Regions from separate parts of the Homo sapiens genome. Here region 1 is linked to region 2. The links are contacts of gene promoters, found by promoter capture Hi-C in blood cells and fetal thymus (Javierre and others, 2016). All regions are on one chromosome and are shown on one strand. The core of a region is centred on a gene start or on the middle of the fragment in contact, and the rest is flanking DNA. Distances in the headings are between cores, read along the strand shown. Region 1 overlaps MRPS9-AS2 (MRPS9 antisense RNA 2). Region 2 holds the start of MRPS9 (mitochondrial ribosomal protein S9).

Region 1 (7,346 bases), core at 1,839-4,338, 65 kb after region 2:
AGGGTGACAGTATGGTAGTCAGGGAACTACCCTCAGCTGTAAAGTCCTTTTATTCTTCATTTGCAAACACTCTGACAACAAAATGCTGAAAAGGAGCTTATAACAAAACCATGTAGGAGATAGCATGCCTGTGGGGTCAGAAGCCAGCGTTTCTGTTCCTGTAAGGCGGGTGATCTGGGGGAGTTATGTTCCAGCTTCCTCATCTCAAAAAACACAACGATAATTCCTGCCCTGGATAGCTCTTTTGAGAATTAAACAAAATAATATTTGCAATGAAGTGAGCCAGGGCTTGGTATCCAACAGGTGTGTGATGATGTGGGCAGCCTTTCCACTCCCACCAATGTCTGCTCTCTTAAGTCCCAGTTGGGCTAAGTACTCCTAAGTACCCCTAAGTCCCAGTTGGGCTAAGTACTCCAAACTACCCCTAAGTCCCAGTTGGGCTAAGTACTCCTAAGTACCCCTAAGTCCCAGTTGGGCTGACTACTCCTCAAAAGCAAAACCTGCCAGGTTGGTGTGAAAATGAGGTGCAGACTCCTGTCATGGGATAGGAGTCACAATTGTTTCTTGCTTTTAGTTTCTAGTTTAGTGCCACCTCCACCAACCTTCCACTTCCCCTCATTACCACGTCCACACTGTCATGGAACAAATAGAGCCAAGACACATGGTGTACAATTTATGTAGCTGCTTTCACGTTCTACCGACCCTGTTTTGTTTTGTTTTTGTTGTTGTTGTTGTTGTTGTTGTTTTTGAGACAGAGTCTTGCTCTGTCTTCCAGGCTGAGTGCAGTGGCGCGATCTTGGCTCCCTGCAAGCTCCGCCTCCCCAGTTCACGCCATTCTCCTGCCTCAGCCTCCCGAGTAGCTGGGACTACAGGACCACGCCACCACGCGTGGCTAATTTTTTGTATTTTTTTAGTAGAGACGGGGTTTCACCGTGTTAGCCAGGGTGGTCTCAATCTCCTGACCTCGTGATCCGTCCGCCTTGGCCTCCCAGAGTGCTGGGATTACAGGCGTGAGCCGCCGCGCCAGGCCCCGACTCTGTTTTGAATAGTTTGCCATTTCTTTGCTTCCTCTGGGACATTAGGGAGTTATGTTGGAGTGTGGCCGAGAGAATTTAAATCATGTGAAGCTTCTCTCTTGATGTAGCACTTGCTGTTCTATCTATATGGATGGAGACTCACTGCTTTGGGACCACAGAGATGTGGGCTCTGTAACCCCTCTAGGCATTTGAGAGGTCTCCAAGCCTCCCCAGATATCTTTGGTGTCGCCCAGAAAGGAAATGGGTCATTCCCTTCCCAGTCTAGTTCACTTAGTCCCAGAATGATTGAAACAAAACTGAAATCAAATCCATCTCCTACTTAAAAGCCTCAATGACTCCTCATTATCTACAGGATAATAGCTTAGCTGCCACTTAGTCTTCCAAGATGCCCCTTTCATTGAGCCATGTCTTCTGGTAGCCACTCCCTTGAATAGTGCCCTCAGCATTGAATCTGGGCTGGCAGAGAGGCTTTCAAGTCTAGGGCATGGGACTTCGCAGCTTCTGTCCTGTTCTTTGCAACTTCCACTTTGGAGAAGCCAGCTATCGTGAGAAAAGCCCAATTACCCTGATACCTCCATGCTGTGAGGAAGGCAGGGGTAGCCACGTGGAAGGCACAGAGGCTGCATGGAGATGGAGAGAAGCCAGCCGTCCCTCTGTTGCAGTCCAGCCTTCACATGACTCCAGCCCAGCCATCCACTAAGTGCATTTGTAGGAGACACCCCAGTGAGACCAGCAGAAGAACTTCCTGGTGGGACCCAGTCAGACAGTGGTTGAAGCTGGAACAGTGAGGAGCTGGAGCAGGTGGAGACCGGCCACATCCCTGTCTTCACGATGTCTCAGCTTCACCGTGTGTTCACCCCAGGTGGGCTACTTTGGGCTTCCGCCAAGCATGTGGTGGCTTCCAAGAGCAAGTGACCTAAGAAGCAGGAATTGGAAGTTGGCAGTTTCTTGGGCCTTCCCAGGCTTAGAAACCAACATGGCATCACTTCTGTCTTATTCTATCAGTCAATCAGTCACAAGATCCAGGCTCAAGGACAGGGGACTCAGACATGCTCTCTTGATGGGAGAAGTCTCAAAGAATTCAGAGACCACGTTACAAAGTGTTTCAGTCCGATCTCTGGCCAAAAATTACTTATAATTCTCTCATGTGCAAAATACACTCACCCTTTTTCTTCCTTGCACACATTCCTACCATTGCAGGCACCATACTGTTTTAATTAATCATTTACATGTTTGCCTGCGTTTTGAACTTCCTTAGAAACAGATAGGGTGTCAAATTCATCCTTATTTCCCTTGTGCCTGGTATGCTTATTACACAGCATATAATAATACCCAGTGAAGGATGAACCACTAGGCCGGGTGTGGTGGCTCCCCCTGCCTGTAATCCTAGCACTCTGGGAGGCCGAGGCAGGTGGATCACCTGAGGTAAGGAGTTCAAGACCAGCCTGGCTGACATGGCGAAACCCCATCTCTACTTAAAAAAATACAAAAAATTAGCCGGGCATGGTGGCAGGCACCTGTAATCCCAGCTACTTGGGAGGCTGAGGCAGGAGAATTGCTTGAACCTGGGGGTTGGAGGTTGCAGTGAGCTGAGATCATGCCACTTCACTCCAGCCTGGGCTAAAGAGCAAGACTCTGTCTCAAAAAAAAAAAAAAGGATGAACCACCATAAACTATACTGTGCACACATACAGTCAACAGATTGTGATGAACATGAATTGAGAAAGTAGAATATCAACTAATGGTTGGACTGAACATAGTATTGAATGACACATTACCTAAACAGCTATCTCCCTCTTCTCAAGTCTATTCAAATCATTTTGAAAATTAAAAATAATTTTTAAAAATTTGGAAGTAGAAATGGAACCAGCAGAAGGCTACTCATAGTGTTGCTAGGGGAGCAAATAATATTAACATTTGTTATCCTGTCCTATCTGCTCACTCATGTTTTATCTTTATTTTTGCCTTCCTTTTCTACTGAGCTGGGTCAGGTGAGAGCTGGAGTCAGGCTGTGGCCTTCCTCAGTTGGCAGGTAACTCACCAGTTTGTTCATCCTTCTTTTTCTCTTATTGAAAGCACTTTGATCCAACCTGTCAGAAATATAAGCCAGGGCAGTAGGTCAGTACTGCCCTGAGCCATCATGAACTCTTGTCCATGGGAAAGAGGGGATTTGGAGAGCAGAAAAATGGAGACAAGTTTCAATTTAGATTCAAAAAAATCTAGGAGACAGTCCCATGGTCATTAGATCTTTTCTAAATTTGCAGCAAATGGAGGAGTTTTGAGCTCCAAATGTTGTGATGTTTGTCCCACATCTGAATCTTGAAAGGAACCAGTTTGTGCCTCAGTCAGTTTGCGTGGAACCTGGTGCAGGATTGAAGTTACAGGACGGTGCTCCTGGAAGGGGGTAAGGATTCAGTGGTGAGGATCTAGGGCTAGCCAAGAGAGGGAAAACCATCATTTTATTCATTTTCTCACCAACACCTAGTTATGTACAACCTGCCTTGTGCCAGGCACTGATCCAGTCCCTAGGAATATGATGGAGCACTAGGCAGTTAGGGTTCCCACCCTTGGGGAGCTTACATTTCAGTGAGGGGGACACATATGTTTTAAGCTAAAAATCCATGTGATACTTATAAGTTCTAGAAAGGAATCAACAAGGAGGTATCATGGACAGTCAGTGGACAGGGCAGTATTTTAGGCAACGTAGTCAAACCTTTCTGAGGATGAAACATTACAGTTAAAACATGAGGGGTGAGGAGGAGGCAGCCAGATAGACCTCTGGAGGAGGAGATGCAGCACCTGGTTCTAGGTACCTGACAGAGGTGGATGGAGTGAGATCCTGCAGCCCTCTCAAGCCAGCTTGAGGGGTATTTTAAGGACAATAGGAAGTCATTAAAGGGTTTTAAGATGGAGAGTAAAATAGTTATGCTTTAAAACCTTCAGCCTGCATACTGTATGGAGAACAAAACAGAACTGGCGACATCAGTCTTCATACTCATCCAGTAGTCCAGACAAGATAGGAAGATGGCTTAGACATGAGGAGTGCCAATGAAAGTGGGGAAAATGAATGGATTTGAGGCATATTTTGGCAGTATTGCCAACAGGACCCACGGGTAAATTGAGGGAAGAACAAAAGAAGACTCAAATTTCTTCAGAACTGTGTGGCCCCTTATTGAGAGGATCATCTTCAGATGCCTATAGACATCCAAGTGGAAATGCCAGCTCAACAGTTGCATATATGAGCCTGGAACACAGAGGAGCATTCTGGAGGTGCCTGCACAGAGACTTAATGCACAAGATCAGATGTGTTCACTAATGAGAACATGTGATGCAAGGCAGACAGGAACCCAGGACCAAGGCCCAAGGGCCCCAATGTTTGGAGGCTGTTAGGGAAGCAAAGGACTAGGGGTGGGTTGGTGAAGCATATTTTTACACCTTCACTCATGCTATTCCTGTTGTCTTTAGTGTTCTTCTTCCCTTTCTTTGACTGGTAAGATCCCAATCATCTTTCATAACCCAATTCAAATGGCATCACTCCAATGTTGACACACTGTCTCAACCAGGCTCCATGTGAGCCTTTGCTGACCCCACCAGCCCCATCCCCAACCGAGCAGAATCAGTTGCTTCCTCCTCTGTCAGCCCTTTGTTCAAATGCTCCCTGGGTTCCAGGCAGTTACTGACTTGTCCTTTTCCCAAAAATGATTGGAGCTCTTCCAGTCAGGAATCGGTGGCTTTATTTCTTCTTATAACTGGATACAGACCCAGTACTTAGCAAACTATACATATTCGTTGAATGAATGAATCAATGAATGGATAGATGGAAGAATGGTCTATATAGTATAAAGTAACCTGACAGTCAGCTAGTAGATGTGGGCTATCTGAAAAGATTGGATAATTTAGGTTGGGAAGTTTAGGTTAGGAAGGGTGGACAGGAATCCTCAGAGCAGATCTTTGAGAACCAAGCTGCCTATAGAATGATCCATACATAAGATGTTGCTTATAACTAAGCTTGAGGAATATTCACTGATGAATGTTCACCACCAAGTCATTGATCTCCTTGTACAGCAATGAGGTTTCTTGTGGAAGTCACTGAAGAGAAACAAGGGAGTCTTGCCAAATATCAGGGAGTCAGGGTGTGCCGAGCTTCAGCAGAAATACAGATTCTGGAATGTAAAGGTGAAGACGGTTGTGAGAAGACAGAGTCCACTACTGGCCTCTGGTTCTTTTTCACTGAGTTAATTTCCTGAATGCATGTGGTTGCTGGCAGCAAAAAATCCATCTCTCCCAGTAACAGAAGGGTTTTGCCAAAGAGTAGCTCTGACAGGTTGTGTAAAAGTTGTGTAAAAGCAGCAACAAAACACGTCTCTGTTCATTCTCAAGTTGCTGCTGCTTTCTGCACTTCCAGCAGTGCTGGGGCTCCAGTGTTCCGGCTACAGCAGTGCCACTGACACAGGCGTTGGGGGCAGGAGTGGGCCTGCCTGGCAGAGAGATGGCAGTCTCCCGAGCCTGTGCCATGTCTCTAGGCTGCTTTTTCTTTTACTTTTTGAGACAGAGCCTTGTTTTGTCGTCCAGGCTGGATTGTAGTGGTGCGATCTCGGCTCACTGCAACCTCCGCCTCCCAGGTTCAAACGATTCTCCTGCCTCAGCCTCCTGAATAGCTGGGATTGCAGGCACCCGCCACCATGCCCAGCTAATTTTTGTATCTTTGGTAGAGATGGGGTTTCACCATGTTGGCCAGGCTGGTCTCTAACTCCCGACCTCAGGTGATCTGCCCGCCTTGGCCTCCCAAAGTGCTGGGATTACAGGCATGAGCCACCACACCTGGCCTAGGCTGCTTTTTCTTGTTATCACCATGGCAGGGTGTGGAGGCAGAGGGCCCTGGTTTTCTGCTCCACCTTCAACCCCTGCTGCTCACTGACTCCCACAAGGAGGTCATCTTGCCCTTTCTTTTTCATCACAAGCTAGGAAACCGCTACACCAATTCCTCTTAAAAATCTGCCTGCAAGTAAAGAAATACAAAAACAACTTTACTGCCAATGGTGAGTTTAGTCGGTGTATCGGTCGGAATCCTGTCTCATGGCCCATTCAGAGCTGGGTAACTGGACAGAGCTTAATAAAGGAATTCTTTACAAAGGTGAGGACAGAGTTTAGGAAAAACCATCAGGTATGGTGCGGTACCTGTGGCTCTTAACAGCAGGAGCTTGACCACACCTGGACTTGAATGAGAGCAAGGGGAGGGAGTGATGACCAGGTGTGTGTTGAGGAGGTGTGGGCTGGGGAGCACACAGGAAGTACAAGTGTGAGTTGGCTGAATGAGTTGTCTGATGTGGGTTGTAGCCTTCTGTAGAGGCAGTGACTCAGCAGGGAAGTTGCTGACGGATTAAATACCCTTCCTTCACTCTTTACCCTCCTGCTGGCTTCCTTTAATAGCTGAACCAACCAGAAGCCAGAGAACAATGGATGCCATTTATACCAGTCAACCTCCCTGATCACCCAGCAGGTCCGAGGCAGGAGAGGAGAGGACCTTGAGGCCAAAATGAAGGATTCCCCTGCCCAGTCCTAGCTGGATACTTTGACACATTTGCCAGAGTTTTCAAAGGCCAATCCCATGTATGTTCTTTGCATAATGATTTAGGGGTCAAAAATGCTATCTGCTCTTCTCAACACCCAGGACTTTAGGGCTGACGGGAAGGCACCCGTGGTGGGGTATGCCTCCAAAGGAGGTCCTCTGGCAGGTAGACATCCATCCATAGCCGTTACCTGTTCTGACAGAGAAGTAACACTGGCCCTTGCTCTCTTGTTAGTGCTTAATGACCTTGACTTGAGATTTTTCCCTGGACCTTTACTTAAGATTACTCTTACAAGGATCTGACTTCTAGTTGGTTATTTGAGTTCTTGACCCTACCTGCATTCCTTCTGCCATTAAACATTGGTTTGATATCTTGCTCTCCTGGAACCTGACTCCAGCACTCCCATTTCTGCGTGCTAACTGGCTTGATTCCATCTTAAATAGAAAGACAGCACCTTTCTGTCTGCAGACTTTATGCTTTGGGAGTCTTGATTCATCCTAGGATTCACCCATTCCTACACTCGTTACCTTCTCTAAGTCACCCCAGTGCCAGGGTTTTGGAAAGTAAGGCCATTTCCTTAAGTGTCCCAGGATCACCATATTGGTTTAAAGTAAAATCCACACCAATGATAGAGCCACTTCCTCATCCTAGCTGGGTTTCCCCGACCCTGTCTATGTAACCCTGTTAGCCCTGTTTGCCTCTGTCTCCCTGCATCACACATAAGGCTTTTCTTCTCTCT
Region 2 (6,494 bases), core at 165-2,664:
AAAGTTAGCCATCCCCCAATACATACATTAAATGTCAACAATAAAAATACTCTGTATGATATAGTCCCTCTCATAATCATGCGTATGTAGCAAAGATATACTCAAAGAGATGCATGAAAAAATAAAAATTTCTAGCACATTTTCCAGTAAGAAAAAAAAAAAAAACAAATGTCCACATGAATAGATAGAATGGACTGGTTGATCTAGATTAAAATATAAAGGAAAGAACATACAAAAAGATGTTTTTTTTTTTAAATATAGTTTTTAAAGTATGGTATTTGACTTTCCTGCAATAATTGGTACTTGTTATCACTCTCCCTCCTTGAAACATTCACCTGTTTTCCATGACACCACACTGGCTGGTTTCTCTCCTGCTTCTTTGGTCCCTCATTCTCAATCTCTTGAGGCCTCTTATTTCTTATTTGTCCTTCAGGGCCCTGTCCCTCTGCCTACTCCTCAGTACACTCTCCCTAGGTAATTTAATTTGTTTACAAGGCCTCAGTTACCATTTACAAGGTAACAGGGCATTTCGAAATCAGTTCTCCTCCTGAGCTATACACTTGACTATCCGTAGACCTACTGGAAATCCCAGATGCCTAAAAACATAATCCCATACTAAACTCGTTTCTTCCCTCTCAAATCTTTTTCCTGCTCTGAGATCGCATGTCAGTAAACTGGCATCATCAGCCATCCAGCTGTTGACTCCCCACTTCTCCCTGGATTAAACGAAACGTACAAGTTCTGGCCTGCATCTTTCCATAGAGGGGGATTCGGGAAAATTAAGAAGCCAGAAATTGCGCATATTGAAGGCACTTTCAAAAAGTCACTGTCCTCTACACAACGTGACTTTCTCCATTGTCTTCCAGGCACCTGCAGGAATCCAATTCCCATCATTCTTCTCTGGCGCGGCCCTCCTCCTCCCTAGACAGCAGGGCAGGGTAGGACTGGACCCAACACAGACCTAGGCACCGACCCTTACTTAGCTCAGCAGCCAAATGAAGGAGGAGGTCGCTCCACTTCTACCTTCAGGTAAGTTCCCCTCGCTGCACCCCGCAAAAAAACAAGTAACAACCTCTAGAGCGGCTACTGCACGCCAATACCCACCTCCTCCCCCCCAACCTCAGACCTCCACTAAATACCTAAGATCCTAGAGTCCCTGCCTGAAGGCACGCGAGACGCTGGGGGAAGGTGTCCGCGCTGGCTCCACATCCTCGCGCGGCAGAGGTAAGCCGCTTCCAGTCTTCCCAGGCCTTACCTGGGATCTGACATTTGTTTGCAACTCAGGGGCCGCGGTTTTCCAGAGGCCTTGCTTCCGGGCGAGGCTACCCCTACCCCAGAGAAGAAGCCGGTACGAAACTGCTCCGCCGTAGGACACACAGGGCGCCGCCATGTTAGCTGTGGGAGCTCCAGGACCGGAGGGGTGAGGGGGCGGGGCCTAGAGACGGCGCAGGCGCTAATGGCGCGGGGTTCCAGAGGCTGTCCTGTGCAAGAGCTTCTCGGGCCTTTGGATCAGGGGGCGTGTCCCGCGATCCGCGACAGCTCGTCGCTGATTGGGTGCATGGTGTCCGCGGGGCGTATCCGACTCCACCCCTGCTCGGTGTCGACCTCAAGAAGGATCGCTGGTGGGTCGTTTTTCTCGGCCTCTTTCTCTTCACGTCCTGAACTCAGTCTCTTCGGGACTCACTTCCACGCTCTCCTAGTCTCTTTGGCACTCACATCCACGTGGCGCTTTAGCCAGCCCTTCCTTCCCAGCCCCCTTGCTGCACCTCGAGCCGGCTCTTCCTCCACCTGGGCAGGGCGGCCGGGGCCCCAGATGCGCTCCAAGCCTTGATTCCTGTCTGCCTTATCCTAGTAGGGGTTTTCCCCTCCTCTAACTTTCCACGTTCGTCTGGTTCCAAGTCAAGACTCTCCTGCAGCAACTGTCAAGCCCCTCTCGGTTCCCTGGCACTCTCCTGCGTTGTTTCTTAACTGTATAATGCACAGGATAAACCTTAAACCGGTAAGGTCAAACACTACCTTTCTCGTTTTTGCACGCCCCTCCCTAAGCGTTGGTACTAAGCCTTACTTGAAACCCAATCAGAACTGATTAATTGTTGAATAGAGATGAGTATGTCTTGCTTTCTGAAACTTGCGTGCTCCTGGCAGTTAACTCCCAGGTTGCTTTCTACGAAACACATACTAAATGATGTAGTAACGCACTTTAAAAGGGTTTACACACACTTAGATTTGAAGGGTCAGTAAAAGTAAAACACACAGAAAATCTGAGATCATACAAAGTTGTCAAGCAAATAAATGCCGTCTACTATCACCATCATTTCACGAAACAGAACTTTTTAGCATTAAAAAGGTAGAATGGCAGAATTTCACAATAAAGAAAAATCTTTTAAATGGAATACATTTACTTGTATAAAATGCTCATCCTGTTGTTCTTTTTGTTATTAGCTTTTAGACTAGCAAAAGATATCTTGAGAAATTGGCAGAGGTCGGAGGACTAAACTCTGATTTTTTTATCTTGCCCAAGATTCCTATCTACAGGATTTGGGGAGTCATGCCCTACAAATCATAAATTCTTATTAGATGGGTTTTACTTAACCCTATATATGGTGACTTACTTTCCAACCTGACTCTGGCATAACATTACAAGACAAGGAAGAAAATCAAAATATTTTACCCCAAAACATGTTTCTTTGCCATATCTTGAAATGGCCCTGCAAAGCTGTCCTTGGAGGGGTGGGATATGCATCTGTAAAGAATCTGTATTAACATAGCTAGATCTTTTTCTTCCAGACCCTCCCAATCCTAAAGAGATTAACTAAGATCTGAATAGGAAACATTTGTCATCCATTGTCTCTAAGGGCAGCCACTGTAAGACTTACAGAGAACTTTGGTCTCCACAATCTTTATCTTAAACTGAACATTCCCTTTCTATCAGTCCCAGGTCTTTCTGGACCAAACCAATGTATTTCTTAAATGTGTTTGATTGATGTCTCATGCCTCCCTAAAATGTATAAAATCAAGTTGCGCCCTGACCACCTTGGGCACAAATTCTCAGGACCTGCTGAGGACTGTGTCATGGGCCATGATCACTCATATTTGTCTCAGAATAAATCTCTTCAAAATATTTTACAGAGTTCGACTCTTTTTGTCAACGGATGGATAAACTAGCATTTGGGAATCAAGACTTTATTTATTTATTTATTTTATTTATTTTGAGATGGAAGTTCGCTCTTGTCGTCCAGGCTGCAGTGCAGTGATGTGATCTCGGCTCACTGCACCTTCTGCCTCCCGGGTTCAAGCGATTCTCCTGCCTCAGCCTCCCGAGTAGCTGGGATTATAGGTGCCCACCACCATGCCCAGCTAATTTTTGTGTTTTTAGTAGAGACAGGGTTTCGCCGTGTTGGCCAGGCTGGTCTTGAACTCCTGACCTCAGGTGATCTGCCCGCCTTGGTCTCCCAAAGTGCTAGGATTACAGACGTGAGCCACCGCTTGCAGCAGAGAACCAAGACTTTATAGCTCATTAAAATAGATGTCTTTAAACAGCAGTTCCTACACATTGTGAGATTATTTAAAAATTTTTTAAAATCTTAATTGTGGAAATTTAACCAAGTAGAAAACAGTGAGTATGTGGAAGCAGGATTTATACTATTAAAAAATTATTGATATTGGACCATATAAGAACTAAGTACTAAAATTAAGGTTAGGAGTGGTGGAGATTTTTCCCTTTTTTGAAATTCATGTCACAGTCCTTTACTAGCATGCAGTCATGCACTGCATTATGCAGTTTCGGTCAACAGTGACCTTCACATAAGACAGTGGTCCCATAAAATTATAATAGAGCTAAAAAGTTCCTATCTCCTAATGACCTTATAGCCATCAAGACATCATAGTAAGGGAGGATACCACCCCTCATATTGTCTTATGCCCCATTTCTCCCTCCAAAGAAAGAAGTACAAACTAAAAGGCAGAAATGGAATCCACAGGGAGATAGCCCAGCACTGGGCCCTGGGCCTGGTAGTTAAAAATCAACCCCTGACCTAACTGCTTGTGTTATCTGTAGATTTCAAACATTGTATGGAAAAGCATTGTGAAAATCCCTGTCCTGTTATGTTCCATTCTGATTACCAGTGCATGCAGCCCCCACTCAGGTACCCCCTGCTTGCTCAATCGATCATGACCCTCTGATATGGATCCCCTTAGAGTTGTAAGCCCTTAAAAGGGACAGAAATTGCTCGCTTGGGGAGCTTGGTTTTTGGAGACGTGAGTCTGCCAATGCTCCCAGCTGAATAAAGCCCTTTCCTTCTACAACTCGGTGTCTGAGGGGTTGTTGTCTGCGGCTCATCCTGCTACAATAGTACAACGCATTGCTTACCCATTTGTCGCGATGATAGTGTAAACAAATCTATGCACTGCCAGTCCTATTAAAGGACATACAATTATGTATAATACATAATACATGATAATGAACTATGTTACTGGTTTATTTATTTACCAGGCTATACCTCATAGTTTTTATTGTTAATTTGGAGTCTACTGCTTCTACTTATAAAAAGAAAAAGTTAACTGTAAAACAAACTCAGGTAGATCCTTCAGGAGATATTCCAGAAGGCATTATTGTCATAGGAGCTCCATACGTCTTATTGCTCCTGAAGACCTTCCAGTGGGACACACTGTGGAGGTAAAAGATAGTGATGTTGGTGATCCTGACCCTGTATAGGATAATGTGTGTGTTTGTGTCTTTGTTTTTAACAGACATGTTTAACAAGCTAAAAAAAAATTAAAGAATGAAAAAGTCTTATAGAATAAGGAATAAGAAAACGAATATAAAGAAAGAAAATGCTTTTGTACACCTGTACAGTGTGCTTATGTTTTAAGCTAAGTATTATTACAAAAGAGTTAAAAACTTTAAAAATATCAAAAAGTTTATAAAGTTAAAATAAGCTAAGGTGAATTTCTTATTGAAGAAAGGTAATTTTTTAATAAATTTATTGTAGCCTAAGTGTATTGTGTTTGTAAAGTCTACAGTAGTAAACAGTAATGTTCTAGGCCCTCACATTCACTTACCACTCACTCACTGACTCACCCAGACCAACTTACAGCCCTGCAAGCTCTGTCCATGGTAAGTGTCCTATGCAAATGTACCATTTTTACCTTTTATACAGTATTTTTACTGTACCTTTTCTATGTTTAGATACACATTTACTTACCATTGAGTTACAGCTGCCTACAATATTCCGGTAACATGCTGTGCAGATTTGTAGCCTGGGAACAATAGGCTGTACCATACAGCCAAGATGTATAGAAGGCTACACCACTGAGATTTGTGTGGCTACACTCAATGATGTTTGCACAGTGACAAAATCACCTAATGACACATTTCTCAGAATGCATGATCGTACAGTAAAGCAAACGTAGTATATTTTCCACCTCTGGGAGCAATACTTGTACTCCTGCATTAAATTTCCTGTGTAACCTTTGAATTTGGGAACAAATGCACTGCTATGTGTTCACATTAGGTTCATAATTTGGAGACATAGGAAAGATTGAAGTGTGCTGATTAATCTTTAAAATATGAAAAAAGGGGGCCAGGCGTGGTGGCTCATGCCTGTAATCCCAGCACTTTGGGAGGCTGAGGCAGGTGGATCACCTGAGGTCAGGAGATCAAGACCAGCCTGGGCAACATGGTGAAACCCCGTCTCTACTACAAATACAAAAATTAGCTGGGAGCGGTGGCACATACTTGTAATCCCAGCTTCTCAGGAGACTGAGGCAGGAGAATCACTTGAGCCCGGGAGGCGGAGGTTGCAGAGAGCCGAGATCGCACCACTGCACTCCAGCCTGGACGACAGAGCGAGACTCTGTCTCAAAAAAAAAAGAAAGAAAAGAAAAAAAATGTACTTTACCAAATGGCTAAAGCTTAGATTCTTTTCGTTTTGTTCTCACTTATGGAGCACCTATTGTAGGCATCGGGAATCCTAGGTCCTAAAAATCCAATATAGTGGGGTCATGTCTAATGTGAGGGTTTTGTTCTAAAGTCAGCTTGTTAAATGAACATCAGGAAAATCAAAATGTTGTACTAACACCAAGTGTTGTTGAGATGTGGGGTAGCAGGAGCTATTAGATGCTGCTGATACTAGTGTAAATTGGTACAACTCTCATGAAATCAACCACATAACTAGTAACCTATTCAACTTAAGATGAGCACACCCAACAATTCATCGATTACATTCCTAGATATATACCCTGCAGAAGGTCTTGCACAGTGCATCAGGAGACATGTATTAGGATGTTCATAGCAATATTTTTTTTTGGTAACAACAAAAATAACTTGTCTGTTGATAGGAGGATGGATGGATAAAGGAGCACCATACAGCAATGGCAATGAATGAACCTTAACTATACATATGAATATGGTTGAGGTAGAGCAAAAGATAGGAAGTCACATATGCATAGCCACAGTAGGATTCCATTTACAAAAAATAGGCAAAACTAAGCAA

What was found. The method cuts DNA at HindIII sites, captures the fragments that hold promoters and counts their contacts. A CHiCAGO score of 5 or more calls a contact.
Region 1: a contact is called between a fragment that was not itself captured here and the fragment with the promoter of MRPS9 in region 2, in 1 of 17 cell types (total B cells). The highest score is 5.3, in total B cells.

The regions. Positions count from the first base shown.
Region 1 is chr2:104,968,815-104,976,160 of GRCh38, reverse strand. All of the region lies in intron 1 of MRPS9-AS2 (MRPS9 antisense RNA 2), which reads left to right. Among named protein-coding and RNA genes, the nearest start is that of DALIR, 65 kb to the right of the region's middle. RefSeq lists enhancers at 6,083-6,732, 5,567-6,766. The HindIII fragment of the contact is 3,918 bases long and covers 1,130-5,047 here.
Region 2 is chr2:105,032,989-105,039,482 of GRCh38, reverse strand. MRPS9 (mitochondrial ribosomal protein S9) reads right to left here and starts at 1,414. Exons shown (of 11, transcript NM_182640.3): 1 at 1,256-1,414. The coding sequence starts at 1,390. It overlaps MRPS9-AS2 (MRPS9 antisense RNA 2), which reads left to right and starts at 987. Exons shown (of 3, transcript NR_110603.1): 1 at 987-1,029. RefSeq lists enhancers at 432-1,374, 1,128-1,457, 1,628-1,677, 1,728-1,777, 1,798-2,007. The HindIII fragment of the contact is 6,591 bases long and covers 1-5,915 here.